2 separate regions of the Homo sapiens genome follow, and region 2 is linked to region 1. Evidence: promoter capture Hi-C in 16 types of primary human blood cells and fetal thymus (Javierre and others, 2016). All regions are on one chromosome and are shown on one strand. Each heading gives the region's core, a stretch centred on a gene start or on the middle of the fragment in contact. The rest is flanking DNA. Distances are from core to core; before and after follow the strand shown.

Region 1 (7,515 bases), core at 2,462-4,961:
GCTAAGGACACAAAAATAAATAGGACATAATCCATGTCCTCAGGTAGTGTTTAATTTAGGAGAATGGCTGCTACTATTCTGAATATGAGAAAATGAGCTTGATACAAATCACAAGAGACTCCAGATTGCTCAGTTTGGTTTTTTAATCCTTACGTCAGCAAAACAGAAGGGGAAGAGTCACTACTCATCCAAAACAGTATATACCAAACTTGTCTGATCATATGAATGTCAAGGGGCTTGTTAAAATACAGATTCCCAGAATTATCTCCTGGAGAAGGTTAGGAACTGGTTCTCTACTCGATTCACATGAGCAGGCAACTTTTGGAAACATGATCTAGAAGAAAGCTAAGACATGCAGTAACTCCCTCAAAAAGTTAGAACATTTCTAGAAAATGTAACTTATTAACTGGTTACAGAAAGGGCTGAGCTGCCAAAGAATTTCTTCTGCAAAGCCTTGTCTCAGCAGAAACAACGGGGGAAGACTCATCTTTTAGGCTTCAAAACGAAGTCACATTTGGCAGTGTCCAGGAAGCCAGGATCCTTGCCCACAAGGAGCTCAGTTTCCTTTTTAAAGAGGTGAGAAGGATTCCAAATAGAGAAAAACGTTCAAACATTTGAACCTAAAGTCAGGGAGTCGGTGATCAGTTTGATAACATGGGCAGCACTGTTTGGTGACCAAACAAAATATTATAGAACAGAAAATGTCTATTATCTAACCTATCTGCTCCTCTGTGTCTGAATGCAGACATAGAGTGATGACTATGAGTTACCTTCAATCATCTCTGGAAGGAGGCAGAGCATCCAAATAAATAAAGTAAATAAACAAATAGTAGCTATCATGGTTTTAAGGCAGAATGCAACATATAATGGAAATGAACCTGACAATGGTGACAGATGTCAACGAGATAGTTGCAAGGCAGGTTTAAAGTTTAAAGGTTTGGGAGGCTGAAGCAGGTGGATCACAAGGTCAGGAGTTTGAGACCAGCCTGGCCAGCATGGTGAAACCCCGTCTCTACTAAAAATACAAAAAATTAGCCCGGCGTGGTGGTGCATGCCTGTAGTCCCAGCTACTTGGGAGGCTGACGCAGGAGAATTGCTTGAACCCAGCAGGCAGAGGTTGCAGTGAGCCAAGATCGTGCCACTGCACTCTGGGAAACTGAGCGAGACTCCGCCTCAAAAAAAAAAAAAAAAAAAAGTTTAAAGGTAAGGTGGAGGGAGAAATGGTGTATAAACGAACCTTGCTCTTTCCCACCTGTGCAAAAACACACGGTAGATGCTACTACATGAAAAAGAAATCAGATTAAAAGCAGTTAGGAATCAAGCCACAAAACAGAGTTAATTCCTAAAATGAGAGTATCAGAACTTCTTTTTGAAAATTTAACACTACCCTCACCCATTTTTAAAGGCAGATGATGTCATACTTTGGTGCACGGCCAAAGGACAAAGAACAAGTGTATGCAAAGAGATGGATGGATATGTCAGGAAGTCCGAATATATTCTACAGTAGACTGCCTTCAAACAAAGACATGCAGTGGAAAAAACCATTTGAGTCTGTATTTTTCAGTAGTTCTAACAACACCAACCACTTTCCAATGTCTAATAAATCAACTTAACTTTGCAAATGCATATTTAATTGATGAGAACTTTTGGTCAGACTTTAGAATGCTGGTAAAAGTTGTGAGACTTAAGCAAAACAACTACTCAAAGTTTGAAAGGCCAGTGTGGATGAAAAAATTCAGGTTATCGCCGGGCGCGGTGGCTCACGCCTGTAATCCCAGCGCTTTGGGAGGCCGAGGTGGGCGGATCACGAGGTCAGGAGATCGAGACCATCCTGGTTAACATGGTGAAACCTTGTCTCTACTAAAAATACAAAAAAAAAAAAAAAAAAATTAGCCGGGCGTGGTGGCGGGTGCCTGTAGTCCCAGCTACTCTGGAGGCTGAGGCAGAAGAATGGCGTGAATCCGGGAGGCGGAGATTGCAGTGAGCCGAGATCGCGCCACTGCACTCCAGCCTGGGCGACAAAGCGAGACTCCGTCTCAAAAAAAAAAAAAAAAAAAATTCAGGTTATCTCAATTTCTGTGCAACAAGCACAGAGCACCATCATTTCAATACACAAAACCCTCAAAGATGACATCCATTGATAAGGCATTAGTTTAAAAGCTAAGCAGAGGTTTTAAGTTCCAAGAGCAGTATGTCCCAGGACATAACTCAAATACACCTATCAGGAAACATTTTCATTGTGCATAGCAACTGGAAAAACTGTTCAAATGCACATTTGCAAAGACCCTAACAACCCAAGGAAAATATTTTCCACTTTTTATTTTTAAAGCACCCAGGTGTTTCTGTATTGTAAAAGCCTCAAGGATAACTTCTGACATTGCAAATGCCCTAGGGGTGGACATTGAAGGATTACTGATTTTTTTTTCAAAGCAACTCCTACAGGTGGATCATTCATTGCCCCCATGAAGTAACGCAGTACGAAAAGAAGCAGGCTCAAGCCATGCTCAGATAAATTCACGGATATCTGATGTACAATGGGCTAATTACTGGGAAGAGACCCGAATTCATTCTTAACTTTTTGAGGTCAACTTTAGGAAGCAGTATGGAGTTGCAGCGAAGGGATTAAGGACCTGGAGGCTAGCAAACTATCCTTAGCTCTACCTATTAATTAACTATGTGACCTTTGGCAAGTAATTTCACCTCTCTGTGCCTCAGTTTATTATCTATAAAATGAGTGGGTTGACCTTTACCACAAAATCCCTTCCAGCTCTAAAATTTGATGAAACAACTTAATGGAGAACAAAATACAATGCGTTCTGCAAACTGTTTCTTTGAAGCCTTAAAGACCACCAAGAAGTACACGGCTCAGGCATCTCCAATTAAGTCTGGGCCAATTCTCTGGGTGTCTGGTACACAACCAACCGACTCCTTACTTGCCCTGCACCGTTTCTGTTTCACTGGGCATTCAAATCCATGGATCTCATCTGTGGTTTGGAAGGCTGAGCAGATAACACCCTCATTTACACAAGAAACTTAGGCGTAGGGCTTAAACGTCCTGTTTAAAGTCTCAATCGGTAAATGACAAAGTCTACTTGACCTCATTGCTCTAAAAAGGGGGGTGGGGGGTGGGGATGCCGGGGAGGCGCCGACAGCCAGTTGTTCTGGGATCCCTGAACAGCAAACGCTCCCGGGAAAAGGCCTCAAGCCGACTACTGGGTTCAAATCTCTTGAAGGTCAGGTCGGCATGGCTGAGCCAATTCCTCCGCTTGCAAGACTCAGGGTTCGGAGTCTGCCAATTTGGAATTCACGTGACTATGTGTTAAGTTTCTCGCGGGGACGCGGGGGTAGAGGGCTGCAAGGCACAGGGAGCCTAAGGCGCCAGGCCCTCGGACTTGGAGGTTGCCTGGAATGGGTCAGTCACCTGGGAGCCGGTTCCTCTGCCTCGGGCTTCGGACGCACACGGTCCGCACCAAGGGCACCAGCTTCTGCTTCAAAGCACCCGCCGCCAGGCCTCCACACCGGAACATTTCGGCGACCGCTATTCGGGACCTCCTCCTTCCCTTTCCTCTCACGCACGACCGACGGGTCAAACACCGTGAGCCCCGGCCAGCTCCCCCAGTCTCTTCACACGCACATTACGCAGACTCCTCCTCCCAGCTCCGGGTGGGCATTGGACAGAGAAGCCGGCCTGCTAGAGCCGGGGAAGGGGAACGGCGACCGGAGGCCTACTGCGCAGGCGTAGCACTCGCTGCCGCATTGCGATTGGTCCGCACGGCGAGAGGATTTGCGCATGCACTAGCTGGCCGCAAGCTCGCAAAGACGCTGGCTCTAGGTAGCCGGTTTTCGCGAGTTTGTGGCACAGTGTTGGACTGAACGAGTTAAGGAACCTGTTCAAGGAGGGACTCGTGGGGCCGCTTTGATTGGCGGTTGTGCCTGGTGCTGCCGCTGTGTTGGTGACGAGAACTGATAACAGCATCTCACAACAGCGTAGCCCCGGCATCGCACTTTGTTTTTTGGTTTTAGGACACCAGTTACTTGATACCGAAGCCTTCCTGATTCTTTTGCAGTGATCCAGATCCAGTTTTTCCATGAGTCCGAGGCGCGGAACCTGGCTTCCCAGATCCGGCGTGTACTTCCATCTTTTACCAGTTGCCGGCTCTTTCCCACCCAACCCGTTTCCTGGACAAGTAATTCTGCGCTCTTCTTCCCGCCTGTCACCTTTATTTATTAGTTCAGTTGTGTGTCCTAGATGCTGTATACCAGGTGCTACAGATACACACAGTCTCCTGCTGTGGTTTCTGTGCTTGGGAGCAGGATGTTAGCAAAAAGCGTTCGTGCTTCTCGGACTTTCTGGGAAGAGAAGTCTGCTAAGCAGAACTTTCAGTTATGGGAGTAGGGTGAGGGGCTGAGTGTAAATAAGTGTTTTGACTCTGCCAGATATAAGCTAAATTGGAAATAATGTTTTGGCTGCATGCAGAACATACAATGTGCCTGTTTCAAAGATTCAGCTTACATATTCATTTAACAAGTATTTATTGAGCACTTACCTCTTGGATTGTACTATAAAAGGGGCTCTGTTGGGTATGAAAAGTACGGATGGTCCCCGACTTACCCCTCACAATGGTTCGACTTACAATTTTTCGACTTTATGATGGGTTTAATGAGACCTAACCCCATGTCAGTCGAGGAGCATCTGGACTTAAGCATGGTTCAACTTACGGTTTTTTGACTTTATGATGGGTTTATCAGGGTATTAAATGCAGTTTCGACTTAACGATATTTTCAGTTTACAATGGGTTTATTTGGACATAGCATCTATATAGGAAGTGGCCACTGTCTAGTTGGGGAGATGACATATACCGGTCATTGAAATAATATCTGGTGTAGTGCCGGACAGAGCAAGAGAGAAGACTATGGGATGGAATCACTATGGTAGAACTTCGTGTAAGAAGTTATTTGAGTTGTGTCTTGAAGGATGAGTAGTAAAATTCAAACAGTAGAGGAAAAGGATTGATATTTCAGATGGTGAATACTTTCGGACCAAAGATAACATTTTTCATTGTTAAACATGTTGACCTTGGATCCAGACCAACCCACATTGAATCCTGGCTCTGCCACCTGGGCAAGTCACTTAATTGTGCCTCATTTTCCTCATCTACAAATCTCAGGAGGGTGTTCGGAAGACTAAATGAGCTAATATTTGTAAAGTGTCTTAGAGGAAGCACCATGCTGTTTGTTAAATGAAAAGGCTTGGAACTGTTTTAAAAAACCAAAACCCAGCACATTTTCGGGGGACAATGATAGAGAGTACATACTAAGAAGTATTGATGTGGTCAGGCTCCGTGGCTCATGCCTGTAATCCCAGCACTTTGGGAGGCCTAGGCGGGTGAATCACTTTAGGTCAGGAGTTTAAGACCAGTCTGGCCAACATGGTGAAACCCCGTCTCTACAAAAAATCCAAAAATTAGCCGGGCGCCATGGCATGCGCCTGTAATCCCAGCTACTAGGGAGACTGAGGCAGGAGACTCGCTTGAACCTGCCAGGTGGAGGCTGCAGTGAGCCAAGATTGTGCCACTGCACTCCAGCCTGGATGATGGAGCAAGACTCTGTCTCCAAAAAGAAAAAAATAAAGAAGTAGTGATAAAGACAGGCAAGTATGGTGGGGGGCCAGATTTGAACTGGCAAGAGTTGGGCCCTAACTTTGGAGGTAATGAAGTTACTTTTTTTTTTTTTTTGGTGGAATGGGGATAGAGAATGAAATTACAGGGCCGGGTGCAGTGGCTCATGCCTGTAATGCCAGTACTTTGGGAGGACGAGTGGGAAGATTGCTTGAGGCCAGGAGTTCCAGACCAGCCTGAGCACATAATGAGACATCATCTCTACCATTTTTTTTTTAAATTAGCCAGGCGTGGTGGTATGTGCCTGTGGTTCCAGCTACTCAGGAGGCTGAGATGGGAGGATCACTTGAGCCTAGGAGATCGAGACTGCAGTGAGCAGTGATTGCTCCCGTGCACTCCAGCCTGGATGACAGAGCGAGACCCTATTTCAAAAAAGAAAAAGAAAGAAATTACAAAGATACTCTTTTTTTTTTTTTTTTTTTCTTGAGACGGAGTCTCCCTTTGTCACCCAGGCTGGAGTGCAGTGGCAGTATCTCGGCTCACTGCAACTTCTGCCTCCCAGGTTCAAGCAATTCTCCTGCCTCAGCCTCCCGAGTAGCTGGGATTACAGGCAGATGCCACCGCGCCCTGCTAATTTTTCTATTTTTAGTAGAGACGGGGTTCCACAATGTTGTCCAGGCTGGTCTTGAACTCCTGATCTCAGGTGATCGCCCGCCTCGGCCTCCCAAAGTGCTTGGATTACAGGCATGAGCCACCTCGCCCGGCCTACAAAGACACCCTTCTGTGAAGTTTAACCCAGGAAGTAGTTTTGTTTTTTGGTTTTCTTTAAGAGACAGTCTCATTACGTTGCCCAGGCTGGTCTTGAACTCCTGGGCTCAAGCAATCCTGCTGCCTCAGCCTCTCAAAGTGTTGGGATTACACGTGTGAGCCACTGTGCCAGGCCTAGGAAGTAGTCATTATGTGGTGAAGATGATCCAGGGCTCCCTTACCCATTAAGCAGAGTAGATCAGTGTTCAGAAGTGCAGGCAATGGGTGACATTTTATCTAGAGCTCCTTTGGATAAATATTGAAAATATGGTCAGGCTCTGTGGCTCATGCCTGTAATCCCAGCACTTTGGGAGGCCGAGGAGGGTGGATCACTTTAGGCCAGGGGATAAATATTGAAAGTATCAATTCCAGGCCGGGCACGGTGGCTCATGCCTGTAATCTCAGCACTTTGGGAGGCCAAGGCGGGCGGATCACGAGGTCCGGAGATCGAGACCAGCCTGGCTAACACAGTGAAACCCCGTCTCTACTAAAAATACAAAAAAATTAGCCAGGCGTGGTGGCGGGCGCCTGTAGTCCCAGCTACTTGGGAGGCTGAGGCAGGAGAATGGCGTGAACCTGGGAGGCGGAGCTTGCAGTGAGCCGAGATTGTGTCACTGCACTCCAGCCCGGGTGACAGAGCGAGACTCCATCTCAAAAAAAAAAAAAAAAAGTATCAATTCCAAAGTAAGGTAAAAATTATTTATATTTACTTAACATTTTAACAGCCTTGCATTGATTTTTATTGATATTTGTAAAAACCAATAATCATGGATTGATTAAATACAAAGTTAATTATATCTGATGGCAAAAGAGACTGGAAAACACTGTCAAAATCATGATAATCAGGTACCTATGAAAACAACTGCATGTATTTGAAAGTAATTTAATAATGCACAATTAACACAAAGGGCATTGTACAGTACATTTAATTTTTTTACAATAGGTACAATAAGGTAGTTTTCCTGTCCTTTTAATTAAAAATTATATTTTTATCTTTTTTCAAAAGCAATATATACTCATTGAATTAATTCCAAAAAATATAAGTGGAAATCCCCCAAAGTCTCACCCCACAGAAGTAACAGACACCTTT
Region 2 (7,515 bases), core at 2,542-5,041, 530 kb before region 1:
TGTTATTGTTTGTTTGTTTGTTTTGTTTTGAGACAGAGTCTCGCTCTGTTGCCAGACTGGAGTGCAGTACCACAATCTCAGCTCACTGCAATCTCCGCCTCCTGGGTAAGTGATTCTCCAGCCTCAGCCTCCCGAGTAGCTGGGACTACAGGGGTGCGCCACCACACCCAGCTAATTTTTGTAATTTTCTTAGAGGTGGGGTTTCACCATGTTGGCCAGGATGGTCTCGATCTCTTGACCTCGTGATCTGCCCACCTCGGCCTCCCAAAGTGCTGGGATTACAGGCGTGAGCCACCACGCCCAGCTCCTGTGTGTTTTTTATACTTGTCCAGTGCATTGTATCTATAAACAATTTACAGGATTGCTTTATGAGTGTTCGAACTTTCCATCAATGACTTCCTGTACGTATCATTTTGCAACTTGCTGTTTTTGCTCAACATCAAGTTTTTGAGATTTTTCACATTGAAACATCTAGCTCTTTCCATTTAACTCCATAGTATTCCATTATATAAATATGTCCCAATTTACGTACTTACTGCCCTATTATCAGGATAATTGGGGTTGTTTGGATTTCCGAATGCTTCTTTATACTCCACAGAGTGTGATATAACGCTTTGTGGTGCTGGGCACACAGATAGTAAATGATTGAGTATTTCTGTTCACCTGCATCTGTGTGCCTGGGATCATTAATTCCCAGGCAACAGGGAACACATCATATCTGTTGATTTCACAAGGACTTATTTACTAAGCTAGGACCAGCTAGATTTCTCCCCGGTGATATTTGGTTAGCTGTGTTGTCCAAGGTGCTGGAAAGTAACAGCAATAGGGCAGGTGCCATGGCTCACACCTGTAATTCCAGTACTTTGGGAAGCTGAGGTGGGCGGATCACATGAGGTCAGGAGTTCAAGACCAGCCCGGCCATGGCAAAACCCCATCTCTGCTAAAAATACAAAAATTAGCCAGGTGTGGTGGCGCACACCTGTAGTCCCAGCTACTCGGGAGGCTGAGGTGGAAGAATCGTTTGATCCCAGGAGGCGGAGGTTACAGTGAGCTGAGATTACATCACTGCACTCCAGCCTGGGCTACACAGCGAGACTCTGTCAAAAAAAAAAAAAGAAAGAAAGAAAGAAAGAAACAGCAATGGTTTTTACTTTGCTAATTATCGCAGACCTTAGTGGCTTAAAACAGTGAGTTTATTATTTCACAGTTTCTGTGGGTCAGGGATCTGAGTACAGCTTAGCTGGACCCTCCGCCTCGGGCCCCCTCACAACCTGCAGTCAAGGTGTTGGCCAGGGCTGCAGTCACCTCAATGCTCAACAGGGGAAGAATCCATTTCCAAGCTCACTCACATGGCTGTCAACAGGAGCCTTCAGGTGCTCACTGGCTATCAGACCAGAGCCACAGTTTCTTGCTGGCTATTGGCTGGCTCAGTTCCTTGCAACACAGAACTCTCCAGAGGACAGTTCACAACATGGCAGCTGGCTTCCTCAGAGCAAGCGAGTGAGAGATGGTGAGTGTGTGAGAAAGGCAGGAGTCAGTCTCACAATTTAATCTTGGAAATGGCAGCCCATCATCTTTGCCATATTCTATTTGTTAGAAGCGAGTCACTTAGTCCAGCCCATATGCAAGGGGACGGGGTTAGACAAAGGCAGGAATACCAGGATGGGGGATTACTGGGGACTATCAGAGAAGCTTCCAAGCATGGAAACCAAAGGACTGAGGTGGGGGCAGGATTGATTGGCTGAAATGCCTGCAGAGACCTTGAGGAGGATGAAGAGTGAGGAGGGGCATAGAGTGAAAGCCAGAGAGCAGGAGTAGGAGGATGGAAAACGTCTGGTGTAGACCATTTGTCTCAGAACTTTGGTGGGGAAGGTAAAGTGTAAGAAATGTCAGTGGAGGGACAGGGGATCTCTGAGCACATTTGAGGGCCAAGGGGAAGAAGCCAATGCAAATGGTGGAGGGGAAGGGGAAATGTGGACGCCAGGCTCCTAGGAGAAGAGGAAGGGCATCTTGTCACCTACCCCTGAACATTTCTACAGTGCTCTGTAGGTAAAAAAGTACTTTTCCATAAACAGTTTACCCTTGAACAATGTGGGTTTGAGGTGCACTGGTCCACTTATTTGTGGATTTCTTTTTTCAACCAAACACACACTGAAAATAGAGTATTCGCATATTGTGAAACCTGTGTACATGGAGGGGTGACTTTTTGTGTATGTGTCTCAAAGGGCTGACTGTGGGACTTGAGTATACATGGATCTTGGTATATGCGGGGTCCTGGAGCTAAACCCCCGTGGATACCAAAGGATGACTATACAGGCTTGCTTGAGCCTCCTATCAATCCAGTGAGGTTAGCAGAACAGGGATCGCTTTGTCCCTATTTTAGATGAAGAAACAGATGCAGAGAGGTGACATGGTTTTTCCTAGGTCATATAGGCAATAAACGGCCAAGCCAGGACTAGAATTCAGGTATCCAATCTCTAAGTGTTTCTAGTCTAGTGCTGGCTTCTCATTAGGCCTCAGCACTTTCAGCATGCTGCTCCTCTGCTCAAGTCCTCTCCCTTGTGTCTGTAAGGTCGAGAACTCTCTTCCCCCACAGGGAACTGAATGAGTTTCCAGTTCAAGCAGGCCAGGCAATGGCTGGAAATGAGTGAGAATTCCTTGACTATCAATCAAGGGGCTGTAACCCAAATTAAGGTTGAAGTTGTGAGAGTGGTGTGGGGAAGCCCCTGCATAGTGGGCTGGTAAGATGCACGCCACGGGTCAGTGGGACTCTAGGCCCAGTGAGGGAGTGTTGTGGGGAGCATCCACGTGGGCCAAGTAAGGGCCGGCATGGAAGACAGGCGGGCTGGGAGCCTGGCTCTCACTGCGAATGAGCTGTCCCCATTATTTCCTCTTCCAGCCACTCAGTCCCGCTGGCTCTCCAAGCAGCTGACAAGCCCAGTAAAAGAGTTTCCATCCAGGCCTGGAAGGCCCCAGTGAGAGCTGGGGAGCTGCTTTTATCCAGCCTTGGCAAGGCCTTTCAGCTGGAGTCCAGCCCACTTTGGGCAACATTTGGAAACTTACTGAGGAAATGGAGGTCTCCTTTTTAGGAATCCTGCCCCACCCCTGCTCCCACCATGGGCCTTAGTTTTTCCCCAGGAAACCTGGAGCACCTTGAGACTGGAGACTGTGTCTACCCCAGCAGGCAGGAAACCAGGGGCTCAAACTTCCAAGCCCTGCCCTTTGTGAGCTCCTAGGATACACACAATTCATTCTGACCCTGGGACAAGGAGCCAGTGAACCAGTCATCTATAACAACCTGAGCTACACAGGGCCCCAGAGAAACCTTCCAGACCCTCATTTACCAGCTAAAGAAATTGAGGTACAGAATGGGGAGGGATTTGGTCCAGGATCACAGAGCCACTGAGTGGCAGAATGGGAGGGCCATAGTTTGGAGGAGACTCGATGCTCAAGAAAAAGGGACTGTCAAACAGTTAAGGTAGGAGTTCCTCTAAGCAGAGTTTAGAGAATCGATCCAAGAAACACTTGAAGCGTGCGAGTGGCATAGACTAGGTGCTCAACAAACGCAGCATAAATAAATAAATGAAACTGATTGTTGCTGCAGGGGAGCTGGGACGGACTAGGCCACGAGAATAAAAAACTCTGCCCTGGTCTGGGTCCTGCTGGGTCCAGATCAGTGACACTAGAATAGCCAGCCTGGGCTTTTTTCCCATGGGAAAGTAGGACAACTCTGACCAGAAACTGGGGTAATGGCAATGAGCGGAGGGAGTAGATTAAAGGGAGAGATGCCCCACCCTTACTTGGGATAAAGAGCTCCCCTCTTGCTTCCCCCTTCATTTTTACTGATTGCTTACTTGGTGCCAAGCATTATCAGAAACACACACACACACACACACACACACACACACACACACACACACACACATAGCATTAACACACATGGTCCCTATGAGGCAGGCACTATCATTGCCTCCATCTTATAGATAAGGAAACTGGCCCCGAGAAGTTCAGTGCCTTGCCCTTAGTCTCCCAGCTGATAAGAAGTAAAGCTGGGATCTGAACTCAGGCCATCTGACTTCAATACCTATGCTTCTAACCACTAGGTTATACTGCCATTTCGCTGAGCAAGGCAGCTTGTAGTGGAGCTGATGCCCCTGCGGATTGAAGGCCCACTCATTCACACACTCACAGCCACCCCTGCTTGGAGGTGGCATAGCAGGGAACAAGTTGGAGTTGCCAGAGGCCCCAAGGTCTCCACCCTACCTCTATCTTGGAGCTTAAAGTATCTCGCTCCTGGCCTCTTTTAGGAATGGTAGGGCCATTAGCCCAATGAAGGCTTTGCCATGAGTTTCTCAGACCTTTGCAGGGATAGCAGGGCCCTAAGGAGACTGAACCAGGGTGGAAAAATCTGAATAGGAGTGGAAGAGGAGGGTACAGGGCAGCCCATTATTATCTCTGGTCATTTAACACTTCTTAAACACCTACTATGTGCCTGTACAGGGGGCTGGAACTACAGCAATGGACCAGAGACCTGTCCCTGCAATTAGAGAGCTCACAGTCTAGAGGGGGAGAGCAACTAGCAAACAGACTACAGAGAGGGAAACTGAGGCCCAGAGAGGTCAAAGGCCTTGCCCAGGAATACTCAGTGGGTGAGTCACAGAGCTGGGCCCAGAGTCAGTGCTCAGACTCCCAATCCAGCATGATCCCTGCTACAGCAAAAGCAAGCAAATGCAAACAAGCTCAGATGAAAGAGGGGTGTTATGAACTAAGGAGAGGCATGAGGCAGGCAGGGTTAGGCAGAAGGGCTATCTTACTGGAGGTGGAGTTCAAAGGAGGGTGCTACAGTCTGAATGTGTCCCCCAAAATTCATGTGTCGAAACGTAAAGCGAATATGACAGTATTAAGAGGCAGGGACTTTCGGAGGTGAGTCATGAGGGTGGAGCATTCATGGATGGGATTAGGGCCCTTATAAAAGGGCTTGAAGGAGTTGGTTTGTTGGCTTCTCCTCTTCTGCCATGCGAGGACACAGCATTCCTTCCCTTTTGCTCTTCTGTCCTTTCCACCACCTGAGGACACAAGTGTTCCTCCCTTCCAGAGGATGCAGCAACAAGGTGCCATCTTGGATGCAGAGAGCTGCCCTCAACAGACAACTGAACCTGCCAGCAGCTTGATCTTGGACTTCCCGGCCTGCAGAACTGTGAGAAAGAGATTTCCAGTTATAAGTGACTTAGTCTCAGGTATGTTGTTATAGCAGCACAAACAGACTAAGACAGGGGAAGGATGCCCTGGTGGAGGGGTGCGACTGGAGAAAGCTCAGTGCTCAGTGAGCCCCAGTGAAGTCCCAGGAAAGCCACTGGCAGCAGCCCACACGCTTGGGCGGTTCCTGGACAGCCAAAGGAGGAACCACACCCACCAGGCCCACCAGCCTTGGACGTGGCCCAGCAAGGCCAAGCGTTTAGTAATTGGCGAAGTGACTGTCTGCTGCCGCCCCAGTCCAAATGAATAATTATGGAATGTTTACATGATGTGGTGTTCCTGACACCTTCTCAAGTTTCCATGGCAACTAGGAACCACCGCCCCACCCACCCCCAACCCAACCCACAAGATGTTCTGTCTGTTGTGGCCAGCAGCTGTGTCATGTTGTGAATAAATAACACATGCCTGGCCTTGGAGACTGGAGTTACCCTACAGTCATCCCTGACAGGGCAGACTTAGTGAGGGGATGGGGCTGCAGCAGGCAGTAAGGCGTCTCTAATGCTTTGAATGCATTCACCTGCCTCAGCCCAATGTCACCAGAGATAGGCCATGGGTCAGCGTTCATCCCAGTGGTCCCTCCTGGAGCTAGTAAGGAGACGTCCCTGCTAAAGAGATGTTCAATGTTTAATACACCCAAGCTTCAGTTTACTCCCCTTGAGCTTTTGTTTTCTCATCTGTTGAAGATACCCATGCCTGTCTCAATAACTTTTTATAAAGAAGAGATAAGATGACAACCAGGGCCAGGCACTGTGGCTCATGCCTACAATCCCAGCACATTGGGAGGCTGAGGCGGGCAGATCACCTGAGGTCAGGAGTTCGAGACCAGCCTGGGCAACATGGTGAAACCCCGTCTCTACTAAAAATAAAAAAATTAGCCAGGCGTGATGGCACACAAGAGAATCTCTTGAATCCAGGAGGTGGAGGTTGCAGTGAGATCGCGCCATTGTACCCCAGCCTGGGCAACAGAGTGAAACCCTGTCTCAAAAAAAAAAAAAAAAAGAAAAGAAAAAAGAAAAAGATGACAACCAACCAGCATAGAAAGCATATCCTACCATAATGGCTAGCACTTAGTAGGTGCTTAAAAATGTCACATCTGGAAGGTTCGTTCTAAACATTTGTGCCTGCCCCCACAACGGAAACTTCTCTCCTCCCCAGATCCCCAGATCCATGAATAAGTGGAAGGGCAGAAGCTCCAGTGGTCTTCTGGAAGTCAGAGAACCCAAGTTAGAGGTCAATAACGTCCTGGTGGATTGGGAGTAACCCTACAAACGTGAGACTCTTGTTTTAGCTCTGACTGTCCTAATGGCTGGCGATGGGGCCTTGGGCAAGTCACTTGCCCTTTCTGGTTCTCAGCCTCTCTGTCTGGACTATGAGATGGAGTGGCCTAGACCAGAGGTTTTTCAAATTGTGTTCCACAGAAGCTTGGGTGCCTCAGGGAACTCTGTGGTAGGGAGAGGGATGAGACTGAATGGGTGGGGCTCTGGGCCCCTGAGCCTGCTTTGATGGAATTTATATGTGCCAAGGCTTTAAAAAAACAGTTTGAGGCCAGGCACAGTGGCTCACGCCTGTAATCCCAACACTTTGGGAGGCCGAGTCAGGTGGATCACCTGAGGTCAGGAGTTTGAGACGGGCCTGGCCAACATGGCAAAACTCCGTCTCTACTAAAAATACAAAAATAAAAATAAAAATAAAAATAACTGGGCGTGGTGGCAGGCACTTGTAATCCCAGCTACTACTCAGGAGGCTGAGGCAGGAGAATCACCTGAACCTGGGAGGCGGAGGTTGCAGTGAGCCGAGGTCGTGCCATTGCACTCCAGCCTGGGCAAGAGAGCGAGACTCCATCTCAAAAAAAAAAAAAAAAAAAGTTTGAAAACTCTGACCGCATGCTTTTGGCTTTGATAGGGAAAGAGAGCTCCTTGGCCACTTCCTCAATCCCAGAGTGCATGAGTTCCCTGGCCTGGGAGCAGATACACCAAGAGAGGCACTGGATCCCAAAGGTACCCCAAAGCTCCATTTTCTCCCACACCACCCATCCTGAGCTGTCTTTCTGTCCCAGAACTCCTCTCTGACAGTTCCAACTGCCCAAAACCAGGCTACTTCCACCAGATGCCCTGAGGAACAGTATGGCAAGGGGCCCTGGGCAGGGAAGAGGCTGAGGAGGAGGAACAGGCCCTGGCCACCTCTTTCCTTTAGGAGGGTACGACAGTTCCCAGTGGCCCAACCTCCCAGGGCGTTCTCCCAGAGTGTGGAGGGCGGGGG

What was found. The method cuts DNA at HindIII sites, captures the fragments that hold promoters and counts their contacts. A CHiCAGO score of 5 or more calls a contact.
Region 2: a fragment that was not itself captured here is called in contact with the fragment with the promoter of AIFM1 in region 1 in 4 of 17 cell types (total CD4 T cells, neutrophils, total B cells and 1 more); the score reaches 7.1 in total CD4 T cells.

What each region holds. Positions count from the first base shown.
Region 1 is chrX:130,162,130-130,169,644 of GRCh38, forward strand. AIFM1 (apoptosis inducing factor mitochondria associated 1) reads right to left here and starts at 3,712. Exons shown (of 16, transcript NM_004208.4): 1 at 3,422-3,712. The coding sequence starts at 3,527. It also overlaps a transcript of RAB33A not described here. RefSeq lists an enhancer at 3,361-3,700. The HindIII fragment of the contact is 8,785 bases long and covers 1-7,515 here.
Region 2 is chrX:129,627,118-129,634,632 of GRCh38, forward strand. No RefSeq gene overlaps it. Among named protein-coding and RNA genes, the nearest start is that of APLN, 24 kb to the right of the region's middle. The HindIII fragment of the contact is 4,202 bases long and covers 1,691-5,892 here.